2 separate regions of the Homo sapiens genome follow, and region 1 is linked to region 2. Evidence: promoter capture Hi-C in 16 types of primary human blood cells and fetal thymus (Javierre and others, 2016). All regions are on one chromosome and are shown on one strand. Each heading gives the region's core, a stretch centred on a gene start or on the middle of the fragment in contact. The rest is flanking DNA. Distances are from core to core; before and after follow the strand shown. Region 1 has its middle 83 kb from the start of TNIK. Region 2 holds the start of SLC2A2 (solute carrier family 2 member 2).

What was found. Contacts are between HindIII fragments. The CHiCAGO score rates a contact against its expected background, and 5 or more counts as called.
Region 1: a fragment that was not itself captured here is called in contact with the fragment with the promoter of SLC2A2 in region 2 in 1 of 17 cell types (endothelial precursors); the score reaches 8.0 in endothelial precursors.

Annotation. Positions count from the first base shown.
Region 1 is chr3:171,540,812-171,545,409 of GRCh38, reverse strand. No RefSeq gene overlaps it. Among named protein-coding and RNA genes, the nearest start is that of TNIK, 83 kb to the right of the region's middle. The HindIII fragment of the contact is 1,507 bases long and covers 1,093-2,599 here.
Region 2 is chr3:171,024,431-171,028,507 of GRCh38, reverse strand. It overlaps SLC2A2 (solute carrier family 2 member 2), which reads left to right and starts at 1,788. Exons shown (of 11, transcript NM_000340.2): 1 at 1,788-1,852. The coding sequence starts at 1,838. The HindIII fragment of the contact is 3,598 bases long and covers 390-3,987 here.

The DNA.
Region 1 (4,598 bases), core at 597-3,096, 520 kb before region 2:
AGAACACAGCCTTTGGCTGCAGTGCCATAGATATGATGGTAATATCTTCCTGGCCCATCTCCTCCCAGTATAAACTATTGCTCTCATCATGGGCCTTTGGAATCTTGGCTTTCACCAACGGTGATATTTTTCCAGAGCGCTAATGTCAAATATCAGAGGGGCAGAAATTAAATAAATGTGAAATTTTCAAAAAAGCAGAAGACAATGATAATATTCAGGATTTCTCAAGATCACAAGTGTCAAAGACATTTTGTTCAATTTATTTTCAGTATCCTATTTCCTTAAAGACACTACCAGGATATGTTTTTATTTCTGTATTGTCAGTACCTGGAATTTGAACACACAAAAGATAGTGAGATGTTTCCAAGGGTCAAGCAAGATTGAGAAGTAGTTCTTTTCATCTCAACCACTTAGTATGTTATTTTTCATAACTCTTCCCTGCTGAAGATAGAAGACATGCATTTTTTTGTTGTTGTGTTTTGAAATTTTATAAATAAGGAATTAACCCAGAGAGGTTGCTCTACAGTCACAGAAGTAACATTGAGGGTATAATCCATGCCATTATATTATGGTTATTAGTCTAATAAACATTAGTTTACGTTTATTAGACTAGACTTGTATGTGTGTGATACATTACACACATACAAGTATCTCTTGCTTTCCAGACTATCACTTTTTGAATTTAAGGACCAAATAGATATGTATAAAATTTTAGATCTATGCTGTCCTCTCCTATTTATTCTCCCTTTGCTCTCCATCCAGATCCATTTTCCACCCTCCAGTGCCTACTCTAAGCCCCAGAGGCTGACAACTAGGATAGCATCCCCTGGGTTGCCTTGCCCTCCAGCTTCTAATTGGGCGTGGCCAATGGGAGATCAATGGTGAGCGTGTTTGGGGTATCTATTTCCCTCCTCTACTGTGATAAACACTGTTGGTGCCACACCCACATGCCTGTTTTTGAGCATCCATTTCCTGGTTTCTATGTCCTTTGTTTCTGTTGGCTGACACCTGCAGCTTTCCTCAGAAGCCCACTTTGGGCCACAGAGCCACTTCACCCAGTACAGGTAGACAGCTGGGGGGTGTCTGGAAGCTTATGTCACCTCTGGACATTAGCCAACCACTGAGGTAAGAGGTTGAAAACCAGCTCCCTTGCCTTGAGGTGGGAAAAACTCTGAAGGGTGATGACTCTGATATATGATTTCACGCCAGAGCAACCTCTGGGGTTGGGCTGGTGCTGGGACATTGCTTGAATCTGTAATTTGCAAGGCTTTCCCTCTTTCCCTGTCTTGGTTCCCTGTTTCTCTCATGTGTGTCTCCAGAGAGCACTTCCTCAATCATTCACTTACACGCAAATCCTTGCTTCAGAGTCTGCTTCTAGGGAACCACAACGAAGGCCTCTCCGATATCCATTTCCTTAGAGCCTGGCCACAACCTCAGCAGGGGCCGAGCCCCTCTACAGCCGCAGATCCTATTGGGTGGCCTTGGGAAAAACATTCCTTCTCTTTGTCCCTTTAGGACTAGGGATGTTAACTGCTTCCCATTGGTGCTAGTATTTGGGTTCCTGTTGGTTCCCTTAATCTTGCCCACCACTCTCTAGCTAACATTCTCTTTTACCCCTTTTTCATTAAACCCGTTGAATTAACCATTACTTTCTGACTGGGACCCTGATTGAGAATCCTCTCTGCTCCCCCTTCCAACTCTGCTACTCACTAGCTAAACGTCGAGAACCAAATTGATTCAGATAACAAGGCATCCCTTGCTATCCAAACTCTCTTGTCAAGAATCTCCCTATCTGAACTCAGAGAACCAACGATTTTGGACAGTGAGGATAATTACACACATACTCATATATACAGATGCACATATACACACACATACACACACGTATCTCATATAATTATTTTGAAAGTTATGCTGAGGACACTAAAAGAAGACAAGTGGTAGAAAATGCCTGAAAAATGTGAAATAGATTTCTGTTCTGCCCATGAAGGAATAGCTGTGACAGAATTACCTCCTTGACATATTCCATTAGAATAATGGACAAAATACATGAAACAACTGTTTGCAGTCTTTGGACAGAAAGCAAAGCAGGACTGTAATCTCTGGGAGAGGGGAAGCATATGATGTGAGCCCTCCTTATGACTACCCCAGTTACTTCCTGGAGGCAGTTTCCAGGCTGCAGGGCAGGAAAAAGGAAACCCAAACAGGTATAGCAGTCTCATTGAGTAAGGAGGTGGAGATCAGGTTTCAGGGAGGCCAGGGCAAAGGACCAGAAATGAGGGAGACACACAGACAGAGCACTGTGGAGCTCTGCAGAAGGGCCCCTTCGAATCTTTGACTGCTGCTGACCTGTGCATGTGTGGGGTAAAACTATGACGCTGGAAAAAGAAAAGCCAGAAAGAAGTAAGCTCAGTAATTCTTGGAGTTTACACACGGCTGGGAAATGTTCGCTTTTCCATCAGTCAGAGTAAAGAGGCCTCATAATACACAGGGAATTGGGCTGAGCCCTCAAAGTGCATTTTCTAGTTGAGCTAAATTAACCCTAAAACAAAGCCAGGACCCAGCCTAACAAAGCTCTGGACCCAGCCTAACAAAAGCTTAAAAACAAGGCTTGAAAGAATTAAACTGTTTCCAAGTAACTTAACTGCCTATCAGAACAAGGTCCACACTTATTAAAAGAATTCAACAAAATCTGGCACCCATAAACAACAACAACAAAAAACAAACAAAATTATATCTACAATGGCTGTCACCTAGTAAAAAGTTACCAGGCAAGAAGAAGAGAAAAATATGACCCATAGTCAGGCTAATAATCAATCAATATGAACAAAATTAGAGATGACAGAGATTATGGAATTAGAAAAGACCTGAACCAGTTATTAGAGGTATGTGCCATGTGCTTGAAAATGTAAAGCAAAACATGAATATAACAACAAGAGAAATGGAAGATATTTTTTAACAGACTCAAGTGGAACATCTAGATATGAAAATATATTCTAAATAAAAAATACACTGAATAAAAGTAACAGCAGACTAATACTATAAAATAAAAAATTAGTGAACATAAAGACCCAACAACAAAAATTACCCAAAATGAAGCACAGGGAGAAAAAAATATTTTTAAAAAATTAATAGGCTGGGCTCTGTAACTCATGCCTGTAATGTCAGTGCTTTGGGAGGCCAAGGCAGGAGGATTGCTTCAGTCCAGTAGCTTGAGACCAGCCTGGGAACATAGTAAGACTCTATATCTACAAAAAATGAAAAAATTAGCTGGGCATGGTGGCATGCACCTATAATCCCAGCTACTGGGGAGGCTAAAGTGGGAGGATTGCTTGAGTCCGAAAGTTACAGGCTGCAGTGACCTATGACCACACCAGTCCAGCCTGGGCAACAGAATGAGACTCTGAAGAAAGAAAGAAAAAGAAAGAGAGAAAGAGGGAAGGAAGGAAGGAAGGAAGGAAGGGAAGGAGGAAGGGAGGAAGGTAGGAAGGAAGGGAGTGAGGGCTCCATGACATTTGGGGAAATATCAAGTTGTCTAAAATATAGTAAATGCAGTTCTAAGAGTAGAGGAGAGAAGGAAAACAAATATTTGAAGAACTAATAAATAATAGTTGAAATTTCCAAAATTTATGAAAAGTGGTAAATGTATAGACCTTAGAATCTCAACAAAACTCAAATGGAATAAACATAAAGAAAAATACATAAAAGCACATTATAGTTAACTTGGTGAAAAACAGTAATAAAAAGCAGCCAGAGAAAAGAAACCCCTTTACGTGTCAAGAAACAAGGTAGCATTAGAGCGTATTTCTTGTAAGAAACTATGCAAGCCAGGAGACAATGAAGTGACATCTTAAAGGACTGAAAGAAAAAACAACGGTCAATGTAGAATTATATTCCCACCAAAAATATCTTTCACAACAAAGACAAAATAAAGACTTTTTCATACAAACAAAAGTCAGTAGACCTCCACTGCAAGACATGCTAAAGGAAATTCTTCAGGCAGAAGGAAACTGATGTCAGTGGAGAATTTGGATCTAACAAAGGAGTAAAAAACAGGAAATGGAAAATATGAGGATATACATAAAAACCTTTTTTTCTCATTCTTTAATTGTAGGAGTTTTAGCACATGCAGCGATAAAGCCAATGACAATAATACTACCAAGGACTAAAGAGGAGATAAATGAAAGAATCTCATACCATATGCAGAGTTGAAGGTAGACTATGATAAGCTAAAGATAAATTCTAGAAGCCAGCACAGTGGCTCATGCCTGTAATCCCAGCAATCTGGGAGGCCAAGGCAGATGGATCATCTGAGGTCAGGAGTTTGAGACGAGCCTGGCCAACATGGCGAAACCCCGTCTCTACTAAAAGTACAAAAATTAGCTGGGCGTGGTGGCAGGTGCCTGTAATCCCAGCTACTCAGGAGACTAAGGCAGGAGAATTGCTTGAACCTGGGAGGCGGAGGTTGCAGTGAGCTGAGATCACACGACTGCACTCCAGCCTGGGCAACAAGAACAATACTCTGTCTAAAAAAAAATTCTAGAGCAGTCACTAAAAATAAGCAATAACAACAACAAAACTAAAGAAGCACAGCTAAT
Region 2 (4,077 bases), core at 539-3,038:
GCCCCGAAGGCCCGCTAGTGAATGGCGGGTCGCGCTCCCAATGGGAGAAGAGAATGGTTTCCTGCCGCCGTGCTCCGCGCCGGCAGGCCGGGGCTGAGCACAAGAAGTTAAAGGCTCACTGGCCGCCCGCGCACTCAAGGCAAATTCCGTTTCTGAAAAGGCAGGTTCAAAAGACAAAGGTTGGTAAACCACACCGGTATCATTTACGACGCGGCACAGAGACGCTTTCCTGCAGAATGTCATGTCACTGGCAAATGCCATGGAACCGCTCCTGACTGTGGACCGCTCTGGCAATGGGGCGTGCTCATCACCAGCCAAAACTGATGCGGAAAGTCAGCGTGGCTAACTGGGCGCTTTAAAGTCTGACTTCAAAGCTGCTCCCCAAAGCTTGGCACTATGACACAGAGCACCTCATGTTATGACTAAACGAGTTAATCCATGTCAAGTGCTGAGAGCAGCACCTGGCACCCGGCAAGACCTCAGTAAAGATTAACCATCATTACTATTAATATTTGCTCACGCTTTTCCACTATGAAATTATTGTATTGTGTCTGCATTACATATGTCTCATCTTATATGTTATAAACACCTAGAAAGAGGAGGCTGTGACTTATTTATCTCAGTCATCTCGGAGCATGGAACTGTGCTGGACTCAGTAAAAGTTTGTAGTTTGATTGAATTACCTTCTCAAACCAAACATTTCAGGTGTGTCACCTTGCAGAGGTGACAGAAATGAAAACAGGGTGGCAAAATAAAAAGGTGAAATCTGAATCTCCTCTAATCCTTCATTTTCTCACCCTGTTTCTTCATAACACCCCTCATTGTGTTGCTGCTTGTTACATTTTTGTTCCGCTGGGAACTGGTTCCATTTGAGCCTCAGTGCAATCTGTGGCCCCAGTTGCCACACACACTTAAAGCTCAATAAATTTGATATCTCCTGAACCCCCACAGGGTTTGGATATCATAAGGGATACTTAGGCCCAAGATCAAGCCATATGAGCAGGTTTATTTGAGAACTCTACGTTAAAGCCTCCAGCAAGTGCTTCTTGACATATATGAAGCAATAATAATAACAACCGCTATTTGCTAAGTACTTATTATATGTTGAGATATGCCAAACACTTTCACATATTATCTCATTTAATCCACTCAACAAAACAAAATGTGTGTTATTTCTATTTTATCAGGCAAAAATAAAAAACTAATCAGAGAAAAGTCACAGTGAGCCACTTGCTTAAGGTTATACTCCCCAGTAAAATGTTGAGATTCAAACCCAAGTCCCTAACAATCCAAAGCTCATCCAGGTAACCATTCAAGTCAACAATGGTCTCCGGCCACACAGCTCAGCTCTAAACAGAAACACCACAGCACTAATTATCTGTGGAGCAGAGTGCAGTGTGCCTCCCATGCTCCACAGCACAGCACGGCAGCTCAGCATATCTCATCTTCTACAAAAGACTCCAAAGATTTCTCTTTTCACCAGCTCCCAATTACTGCCACATAACACATGCCTTGAAATGTGATTGCCTCTGGTTTGTAACTTATGCCTAAGGGACCTGCTCCCATTTTCTTTCCTAGTGGAACAAAGGTATTGAAGCCACAGGTTGCTGAGGCAAAGCACTTATTGATTAGATTCCCATCAATATTCAGCTGCCGCTGAGAAGATTAGACTTGGACTCTCAGGTCTGGGTAGCCCAACTCCTCCCTCTCCTTGCTCCTCCTCCTGCAATGCATAACTAGGCCTAGGCAGAGCTGCGAATAAACAGGCAGGAGCTAGTCAGGTGCATGTGCCACACTCACACAAGACCTGGAATTGACAGGACTCCCAACTAGTACAATGACAGAAGATAAGGTAAAGCAGCATTATATTCATTTCAAGTCTGGTTTTCAGGAGATAGTTAGGGGAATACAGTCAAGTCATACAGAGGATTTGGGGGAGGTTGGGTGTAGCTACCACAGATCAAAATTAATTCTCTTTACTTTGCCAATTGAAGAACTGTTTCTTATTCAGTAATTGGGGTTTTAAGGATTTTTGCTCTGTTAACTGACTAGTCTGCATAAGTTTTTTCAAGTAATTGTGCATAACCATATTACTAAAGAAATATGTCCCCTCCTAACCAAAAAAAAAAAAAAAAAAAAGGGGGCAGATTGACCTAAATTTAATCATGAAAACTCATCGGGAATCTTCAAAAACGTCAATGCAGGAGAGACAAAAGAGGTAGAAGGGTTGTTCTCTAGATTAAAAGGGATTAAGACAAACTGACAACCAAATGCAACAAATGATTTAGATTGTGGAAGGAAGAAAAAAATAGCAATAAGGGAACTATGGAGACGTTGGGAAATTTTAAATATGGGCTGCATCTTAAATAATATTACTGTATCAATTTCACACTCTTGGATATAATAATGGTATCTAATTATGTAGGAGGATGTCTTTGTTCTTTGTACATGCTAAAGTATTTAGGGGTGAAATGACACAAATATCTACAGCTTATTTGTAAATGGTTCAGCCAAAACAACACACACACACAAACACTACAGAGCGAGAGATCAACAAATTGGTGAATGTTAACCAGTGGTGAATAAAGGCGAAGGTTATGGAATGATCACTTCACTACTGTTTCAACTTCTCTCTAGATATGATACTTTAAAAAAAAACTTAAAAATATAAAGGATATAGTGTCCTTGCTCCCTTATACGTGGTTTCTAAACTCACCCACCCCTGTACACACAATCATATAAGTTGATCAATCTGTGCCCTGTAGGGTCTCACCTTTAAGTTCTCATCTGGTGCAACTTACTCTGCTGAACATTCCTTCATGTCATTAGATGGCATGGTTAGCTGCACTGGCTTTGGAGTCAGCCAGACTTGGATCTGGGTTCTAGCAATGCCACTAAACTGCTGTGAGGCCTGGGTTAAGTTATTTAACTGAGCTTTGGGTTTTCTCTATTGTGAGAAAACAAAAACATATTAGGATACAATATACCCTTTATAGGCAAAGAAACTTGGGCTCAGTGATATAATATGGGATATTCAGGGATTATACTAGTACTTTAGAGTTAGGGAGTAATTAAATGAGATTATATTAGAGAGGCTTAGACAACAATTTTAATGTTAATAGTTATATAATTATTAATAGTGTTAAATACATATTTAAATAGTATTTATAAATTATAAAAGATAAATTATATTATAATGTATAAACACTTTAAATACATATTATATAAGCACCATTTATATGTTTGATATTTAAAGTTAAATATAAAATGCTATTTATATAGCATTTATATAGTATGTATTTAAAGAATAATTAGCACATCATGATTTCATGAGTATTATAGCCCAGGATAAAGCTAAAGTAGTTAGAACTTTAAGGTCAATATAAAGACAAACATTAAGTTAACAACTACATAGATGGTATGTAGATTTGGCAAAATTCATGAAGGTAGTAATCAAATAACTAAAGTTTGAAAGCTACTGCAAAAAGGAAGGTAATGTGCTTAACATAGTGTCTGGCACATCGCAGATGTTCAAGATTCATTCAAAACTATCATTAATTTTCTTAGGGGCTTTTGAAATTACGTTGTAGATCTTTTCTTGATAACCAAGGAACTGCCTAACAATGGAACCCAGAAAGAATGAGAACTGAGGTAGTGCAATGTTTTTCAGCTTTGTGAATCTATCCAGACTTTGAAAGAAGTAGGATAAGCAAGGAACTGGGGTCAAGAGACCTGAGTTGTCACACTGAATATGCCCAAAATGCTCACAGAAATCAGACAAATGACATAAACAACTTGGCCTGTGAGACCTCAGTTTCTACAACTGAAGAATGGAGGAATTAGACAAGAATCCATTGTTCTCTAAGGTCTCTTTCAACTTAAAAATTCTGTGACTTGATAAGCCCCTGGCTTTTTCCAAAGTTGCATGCAAGATCACCTTTGGTTTAGGTTTTGGAGACATGTAGTTTAAAGAAAAGGGTATAAGCTTCTCCTCCCTACCTAGTCAATCAGTAATTGCTGGAAAAATCTGCTCTTCAGGTTAGCAGTGGCGTTTAAGACCATCAGCTCTCGGTTCCC